Regions from separate parts of the Homo sapiens genome. Here all the other regions are linked to region 2. Evidence: promoter capture Hi-C in human tissues and cell types (Jung and others, 2019). All regions are on one chromosome and are shown on one strand. Each heading gives the region's core, a stretch centred on a gene start or on the middle of the fragment in contact. The rest is flanking DNA. Distances are from core to core; before and after follow the strand shown. Region 1 holds the start of SLC25A20 (solute carrier family 25 member 20). Region 2 holds the start of CCDC71 (coiled-coil domain containing 71). Region 3 overlaps DAG1 (dystroglycan 1).

The links. The method cuts DNA at HindIII sites, captures the fragments that hold promoters and counts their contacts. A contact is called where the count stands out against the background at its distance.
Region 1: a contact is called between the fragment with the promoter of SLC25A20 here and the fragment with the promoter of CCDC71 in region 2, in 1 of the 25 tissues and cell types used here (ovary).
Region 3: a fragment that was not itself captured here is called in contact with the fragment with the promoter of CCDC71 in region 2 in 1 of the 25 tissues and cell types used here (dorsolateral prefrontal cortex).

Annotation. Positions count from the first base shown.
Region 1 is chr3:48,897,456-48,900,177 of GRCh38, reverse strand. It overlaps SLC25A20 (solute carrier family 25 member 20), which reads left to right and starts at 1,296. Exons shown (of 9, transcript NM_000387.6): 1 at 1,296-1,488. The coding sequence starts at 1,384. RefSeq lists a silencer at 1,556-1,745 and an enhancer at 2,326-2,375. The HindIII fragment of the contact is 14,411 bases long and covers 1-2,722 here.
Region 2 is chr3:49,164,841-49,167,665 of GRCh38, reverse strand. CCDC71 (coiled-coil domain containing 71) reads left to right here and starts at 1,335. Exons shown (of 2, transcript NM_022903.4): 1 at 1,335-1,399. RefSeq lists enhancers at 1,054-1,173, 1,194-1,263 and silencers at 1,414-1,493, 1,514-1,573. The HindIII fragment of the contact is 16,226 bases long and covers 1-2,825 here.
Region 3 is chr3:49,482,151-49,484,886 of GRCh38, reverse strand. All of the region lies in intron 1 of DAG1 (dystroglycan 1), which reads right to left. Among named protein-coding and RNA genes, the nearest start is that of DAG1, 13 kb to the right of the region's middle. The HindIII fragment of the contact is 9,505 bases long and covers 1-2,736 here.

The sequences.
Region 1 (2,722 bases), core at 47-2,546, 270 kb after region 2:
GGCTGGCAAGTTTTTGTATTTTTAGTAGAGACGGGGTTTGACCATGTTGGCCAGGCTGGTCTTGAACTCCTGACCTCAGGTGATCCACCTGCCTTGGCCTTCCAAAGTGCTGGGATTATAGGCATGAGCCACTGCGTCGGGCCTTTAACTTTTTTTTTTTTTTTTTTTTTTTTTTTTTGTAGAGACAGTGTTTCGCTCTTTTTGCCCAGGCTGGAGTGCAATGGCACGATCTGGGCTCACCGCAATCTCTGCCTCCCAAGTTCAAGTGATTCTCCTGCTTCAGCCTCCCAAGTAGCTGGGATTACAGGCATGCGCCACCATGCCCCGCTAATTTTGTATTTTTAGTAGAGACGGGGTTTCTCCATGTTGGTCAGGCTGGTCTCAAACTCCTGACCTCAGTTGATATGCCTGCCTTGGCCTCCCAAAGTGCTGGGATTACAGGTGTGAGCCACTGGGCCCGGCCTAACTTTTTTTTTTTAGAGACAAGAGTCTCGCTATATAAGTCAGGCTGGTCTCAAACTCCTGGGTTTAAGCAATCCTCTCGCCTTGGCCTCCCAAAGAGCTGGGATTACAGACATGAGCCATAACACCAGGCCCAAACCTGTCTTCTAGTGCCTCCAAAACCTCTGTCGCCTCATCAGCTACTACCCTCCCTCTTCCTGTGGTTTCTCAAACATGTCAGGCACAGACCATCTCAAGGCTTTTGCATTTTCTTTTTCTTCTGGGTGGAAGGTTCCTCACCCTTGACCCTGTTATGTGTGAACAGAACTCCCTCTCTCATCTTCTCAGGTCTTGAATCCTGTCACCTTTTCAGTTAAACCCTCCCTTATTCAACGAACTAAAATTGCAAATCACTTGTCCCACACACCCTCTAACTCTCTTCCTGGATTTTTCTCCGTAGTACTTATTACTACTTGATACACTATGCATTTTTTAGTTATTTATCTTTGTTATGGTCTGTAAATTCCAGGAGGACAGGGACCTGTGTGTTGTACTACCAGGGGTGCCTCCAGCACCTAGAAGGACGCCTGGCATATGGCAGGGCGCAATTGATCTCTCTGGAGTGAGTGGATGAATGGGAGCTCAGAGGAAACATGGAAGTCTGGGAAGGCTTCCTGGAGGAATAGGCCCGCTGGCCCACACTCCCAAACCCCGCCCATGCGGCTTTGCGCTCTGCCACGCCCATCGAAGCGGGGCCGAGGCCGGAAGCAGCCCCGGGCGGAAGCCCTACCGTGCCAACTGGGCCCTCCTCCCGACCTGCCCCGGGCTCGTGCCCCGCCCACCCAAAAGTGGGTGAAAGGTCGGCGGCGCCGGCACTGCAGCTGGGGCTGAGAAGCCAGGACGGCCCGAGAACTGACAGACGGAGTGACAGACGGACTGACCATGGCCGACCAGCCAAAACCCATCAGCCCGCTCAAGAACCTGCTGGCCGGCGGCTTTGGCGGCGTGTGCCTGGTGTTCGTCGGTCACCCTCTGGACACGGTCAAGGTGCGGGAGGCTGGGTCGCAGGCTTTGGGGAGGAGGCCCGGGCGGGGCGCGGAAAGCATGGTCCCCCGCGAGGCGCGGACGCTGGGCAGAAGAGGGGCATGTGTGAGCTTCCGTGAGAAGTCTAGGGAATCTCTCTTTCAGGGGTGGGCAGGAAGCTGTACCTTGCGCCCCAAAGAGCCAGGCGGCGGCGCAAAGTGAGCAGCCTCTAACTGCCTGTCAAGAGCTCTGATGTAAAGTTCCCTGTCCCGCAGTCTCTTCTGACCCTGCGCCACTTCTTTAGGGATGGGAAGGAATAAACGTCTCTCCATAGTTTTGGTTTCAGCCAACACTAATATTATCGTTAAGGTTGAAACAGGTCCCCTGTAAAGCCTGCCCCAGGAAGACAACTAAAGACAGAGCGGTACGGTTGTTCTGGAGGTGTCCTTTGATACATTCCCCTGGGGCAAGAGTACCCATCTCTTTCGCACCTTTCCCGGCCCGGGGAGATACTTGACACTCTTCGGCCTGTCACCCAACGGTGGCCTGCTCAGCCTCCTGGGCAGAGGCATCCCTGTGAGAAGCAATGATGACCTCAGTGACCGAGCCCCTTCCACGGAAAGCAAGGTGATCAGCTTTGCACAAGGCCAGCCTCATTCTCACAACTCCCAGATGAGGAAGCTATGGTCAGACTGAGGCTTGGGAGGGAGGACGTTCATCAGGAATTGTTCTCTGGTCTTCCTCATATCATATCTCAACTATTCCCCTTGCAACACCTTCATTAATGCTTTGCTTGGGGACCAAAGTCCATCCCCCATGGCTTAGCACTCGAAGCTGCATCCAGTTTTCTCACTTTTTTTCTAGACGTAGACGTGAAGGAAATTGACAAGTCATTGCCAGGGTGGGCCTGTGGGGAGCAGACATGAGTTTTAAAAGATTGGAAGCCCATGTGAGGGGGTTTGTTAGGATGTTGGGTCAGATTTCTTCCACAGCGAAATAGTTTTGTGGGCACTTCCTCTTGGCCAGCTTGGGCAGCAAGCTCTTTGCTGCCTTTCATCCAAGAGAGGAGCTGCCCTGAAGTAGAGCTCATACTGGGGTCATTCTATAGGAAGACCAGGGTTAAAGTAGCTGGACTGGCTAGGTCATTGTGCAACATGAAATCAAATGTTTATTTAGCTGGTGGTAAATGCCATGTGTTAGTGCTTCCCAGACTGTGGTCATTCCAAGCGGCACTGTCTACTGAGGGACGATTGTCTGG
Region 2 (2,825 bases), core at 86-2,585:
GTTCCTGCTAGATACCTTGGCTATACTTAAAAGCAGCGAGGACCTCACCATTAGTGCTGAGGCCCTGGGAAGCTAAGAGGCACCAGATGAGGCCTATGGCACTGCTGGGTGGACTAGGCACTTGTCTTTAGGAGTGCCTGGACCCCTCTGTATAAGCAGGGAAAATACAGAGCAACCAGAGGATCCTGGTTGGAAAAAGGGCAGGAAAAAGGGCTAGTACCCAGTCCCTAAATGAAGCATCCCGCCACCCTCCTGTGATTGCCAATAGGCTTCCACCTGACCCCAACTACCAAATAAGGCACCACTGCAAGGGTCAGAGTCCAAGAGTTGTGGCAATATTTCTGCCTCCTGGCTCAGGCTCTGACCCTAGTGCAAATGCCCCCACTACCTCATCCATGAAACCAGGGCTCCCAGGATGGTTCCCAACCTGGACTTGCAAACCTCTGACTAATGGGACCTTTGGTCAGAGCTGTGGAGACCACTCTGACCTCTCACTGAAGTCACAGACCCCTAGGGTTGATTTTGACCTGTGTCCTATAACCACCACCCCGTACTAGCCCAAGAGCATGGATAAAAAGACTGAGGTCCCAGACTCCTAGGCAAAAGGAAAGGGGTTCTGGGCAGTGTTAAGACTGGAAGCAGGACTTCCTTCCATTGAGGGGCTGAGGCTGGGCCAGTGACTATACCTGCCCCCACCTGCCTGAGCAAGTATACTCAGGCCCACAGTGGTATACTGGAGCCCCCAGACTCCATGTGCGCTTGGGCTTGCGTGCACCACTTGTGATCACGTGCACACCAGCCTTTCATGCCATGTGCCACAGGCCCTATTCTCAGGAAGAGAGGAAGGCCTGCTGTCCTCGGAGAAGATACCCTTACTGCAAAACAAAGGAGATCACCTGAGACTCCCTGTCAGGAGGCACTCCTCTTTCACCCTCTGGTCAGGTGTCTGGGACTGAAGTGGGCATTGTCAGTGGCTAAAGATAGATCAGAGGGTGGAAGATGGCCTGAACCTTGTCAGGAGCCCCTCCCAGATGTCAATGCACCACTAGCTCCCCTCAGAAAAGGTGTCAGATGACCCCTAATCCAGTCTTGGCCGGGCTCTAGTGAGTCCTTGCCTGGGGCCGCGTCAGAGGGCACCTCTGTTCTTCAGACTTCTGCACAGGGCCGAACGGGTTTGGAGCAGTCACCGCGGCCACCACCTCCAGGCAGTCCTCCTTGGTACCCAATCTGCTCCGCCCCCAGACTTTGTGGGGAAATGGGGTCTCAGGGGTCAAGGGTCGGTAGGGCGGGCTGGGTCCCGGAAGCGGAAGCGCAGTGCACTTCCGGCGCGCAGCGGGCGGCCATGTTGGAGCAGCGGAGGCGGCGCAGAGGCGCGTCTTGGGTCCCCGCGGCGGCGCCGGTAGGTTGGAGCCGCGGGCCTAGCCGCGCCGCGGAGGGGCGGCCCGCGAGGCGGCAGGGCGGACGGGCAAGCGGCCAACTCTTCCCGGACCCGCGTCCTCCGCCGGCCTGGCCGAGACCCCCCACCCCACCCCCACCCCGCGCCCAGCGACCCCACCCTGGGGCTGTGCGGTCCCGGTAGGGCTAGCACCGTTCACCCTGTACATTTCGCTGCCTCAGTGACCCCCGCCTCACGGCTTGGGCCCTAAGGACGTGCATTCCCAGCCTGAGGGCCCCGATCTGCCCCCTCCCCCGGTCTGCCTGTGTGGCGCCTCTCTCACGCCCTATCTTCCGTCAACTTCTCCTGCCTTCCCCGGGGGCACGTGTGAAGGGAAGTCGGAGGCCGGGCAGGAGCCTCTGTTTCCGAAGCTTCTCGAAAGCCCAGAAAACCCCTCCCAAGAGCCCAGCCTAACCTGGGTGGAAGAGCCCCCAGGTCACCCCAAATATTTGCGCTGGGGCGCGTGTGAGGGTGGGAAATAGGTCCCTCTCTCTTCTACAGTTCACAGCTCTGGGAACTACATCCCTTCAAAAAACATTAATAAAGAACTAAAGTCATGTGCAAGGATTGTGCTTGGAGAACGGTCTCTGGGGAGGGGAAGTGCCCAAGACACCTGAGGATCCAAGAATGTTTCCAAACAAAGAGCCCTAGGGCATTTCCTCCAGGGTATTCTGAAGACTTCATCTGCTGCATTAGAGCGGTGGGAAGAAACTACACAGACGGGCCTCATGGCCCGAGGGACCTGCCTGATCCTGGCTGATCTTTTAATGCTCTGGTGCAGCTGGGGAGCTGCCTCTTGCTTCTGGGAACCCTCAGTGTTGGGTTGGGTATTAGATGTTAGTTATGATTGATGTCCACAGCTTCTTTAAAGAAGTCTGGGAGTAGTTAGGTGTTCTCAGTCACCTCCATCTGGGCTGTACTGAGGTCTGTGGCCCTCCAAGTCTTAGGTAGGACAGTGCATACCGCTAATGTCCCCTTGACTCACCATCCTACTTGCAGCCTTTGGCTCCCATTGTCCTTAAACTTTGGGATCTTGGTCTGGCTTCCTGGTCCCTGGTCTGCCTGGTTGCCTAGAGAGATGTCATTGGCACCTGCTACTCATCAGCTTTTTAGTTTCTGTTGAAGAAAAGTCCGACTCTTGATTAGGTCTCCATGCCTCTGGAGCTAGAAAATGGGTTGCTGAGTACCCTGTCTAGAGACTGAAAACAGAACTTCTGGTGGGCAGGGAGATTCCCCCACCCCACTCCAGCTCCACACATGAACAGCAGCAGCTGGAGAAACAGATGGGCATGGACAGTGGGTGTAAGTCTGGGCCCTTTGGCTAACATTCAGGGTTCTTTGTTGCTCTATCCTCGCCTGTTTTTTCACCTAGATCCCAGATCCCACACCA
Region 3 (2,736 bases), core at 66-2,565, 320 kb before region 2:
AGGCGGAGGTTGCAGTGAGCAGAGATCGTGCCATTGCACTCCAGGCTGGGTGACAAGAGCAAGACTCCGTCTCAAAAAAAAAAAAAAAAGCAGCAATGGCTTCCTGAGCTCCCAACCCCTTGGCACCCAGTGACCACAGCAAACTGGGCACAGAGACCACAGTAAGCCTGACACTGAGGCAGAGGACTGTGCCTTTGGGTACAGCCCACAATGGACCCCATTCTTCCTGGAAGCCCATAGCAGGATGGAAGTGAGGAGGCCAGGACATTCCTCCACCCCCTCACACAGATGTAAAGGGCACAGGCAGCTCAGGGCAGCAGAGCCCTCCACAGGAAGAAAGCATACGGAGCCATTTTTATCTTCAGCTATTAGAATCAAAAGGAGACTCTCTTCTCCAAAATAACAGAGGTACCATCTGATTAAATCAGGTAATCAGGTGGCCTACATAGGATATCCCTCTCTAGTCAGCAAAGTCCAACTAGAAGGGAAAAAGGCTCAGGGCTCTGAAGAGACAGGGGTCCCCACAGGACCTGTCAGGTTAGGGCTGGCACTACAAGCAGAAGAACCAACGTCTCCTGCTAAGATTTCTCCCCTACATGAAAGAATCTGGTCACTTTCTAACTACTTTTAAAATTGGAAAAAGCACATCCTCAGACTTGCAAACACAATGTTTTAGGACCATACTGTTGACCCTTCTGACAAAATATTATTCTATTTTCTAGGTAAGCAAACGCAACAGCTGGTAGCACAAACCCAAAGCAGAAGAGAGTCAGACAGGAATCCTACTGTTATCTATTTGTGACTTTAATGAATTCTATTTTTAGGTCTTTAATAAAGAGCCTCTCTTCTACTCTCTTCCTACCAAATTTCTCCACTCAGGCAATTCAATCGTTCCAACACTGCTCAAAAGTCTAAAAATATAAGACACTTCTGGGCCGGGTGTGGTGGCTCACGCCTGTAATCCCAACACTTTGGGAGGCTGAGGCAGGAGGATCCAGCCTGGGCAACATAGCCAAGACCACATCGCTACAAAAAAATTTAAAAATTAGCTGGGCATAGTGGCACGTGCTAGTAGTCCCAGCTACTCAGGAGGCTGAGGTGGGAGGATTGCTTGACCCTAGGAGGTCAAGACTGAAGTGAGCTATGATTATGCCACCACACTCCAGGTAGGCAACAGGGCAAGACCCTGCCTCTCAAAAAACAAAGAAAACACAATTTCTTCAATCATACCTCACATAAGAGGTAGAACTTACTCATTTTCTCCAAGACTTAGAATCCAGTCCCTGCTCAAGGGCTACTCATCAGACTGGTCTCCAATATAAAAAATCCTAGACGGCAACGTATCCCTGACCTCTGGCAGATTGGACACAGAGGTGACCTACAGTCCAGGCATGGTGGCTCACGCCTGTAATCCCAGCACTTTAGAAGGCCGAGGCAGGCAGATCATCTGAGGTCGCAGTTTGAGACCAGCCTGACCAACATGAAGAATCCCCATCTCTACTAAAAATACAAAAATTAGCCAGGTGTGGTGGCGCATGGTGTATCATTCCAGCTACTTGGGAGGCTGTGGCAGGAGAATCACTTGAATCTGGGAGGCAGAGGTTGCAGTGAGCTGAGATCACGCCACTGCACTCCAGCCTGGGCAACAAGACTAAAACTGTCTCAAAAGAAAAAAAAAAAAAAAAAGATGACCTACCAGCCCAAGCAGGAGTGTTTACAGGACATTTACAGTAATCACATGCATGTTTTATGGAAATATTCCATAGTAAAATCAGGGCCCAGAAAATGGATGTTATCCCAGGTTCTGATTAATAGCCAAATAAAAAGGAAATCTTATTTGGAATTCCATTATTGACTGGATCATTTTTCTTGGCAAAAGCTAGCTAGAGAATCAATCTATCCCTGGAGAACAACTGAGCTAATTAACAGAGGTGTTTATGACAACCAAGGCAGAACTGGTTCACTTCTGCCCTAGACAGCCTTGGGAATCTTAAGTAAATCTCCCATCAACCCCTAGGATGCCTGGGGGGGAAATCTTCACAGCACAGTGAAAAGGCTAAACACAGATACCTACAAAATCAAAAGAATTTGATTCCAATTCCACTACTTTGTTTTAATACATTTACAAACTCTTCCCTCGGTATCCATGAGGGATTGGTTCCAGGATATCAAAATCCACAAGTGCTCAAGTCCCTTATATAAAATGGTGTAATATTTGCATCATAATAAGGACAAAAACATGTAAGCAATAGAATCTACGTCATAATTAAGTTTAAGGGAAGGTACTGTGACTGGATGGACGTACACATAAGCCAGATTTATGTTTCTCTCCACCCAAACATCTCAGTGGAGTAAAGAATAACAAGGCAGCATTGCTGCAAACATGTCTCGCCTCCCCCCATAGGGCAGTTTTTCTCCTATCTCAGAATTGAACAAATGTACAATCAGGTTTTACACGGAGACATTCAGTTCCCAAGGGCAGGCAGGAGACAGTGGCCTTCCTCTATCTCAACTGCAAGCGGCTTTCCTCTTTTACTAATCCACCTCAGCATAGACCCTTTACAGGTGTCGGGCTGGGGGAAGGTCAGGTCTTTCTCATTCCACGAGGCTATATTTCAGACTATCACATGGGGAGAAACCTTGGACAATACCCCGCTTTCAAGAGCAGAGGTCCCTGTGGTTTTCCGCAATGCACTGTGTCCCCAGTTTATTGAGACTAGAGAATAGCGATGACTT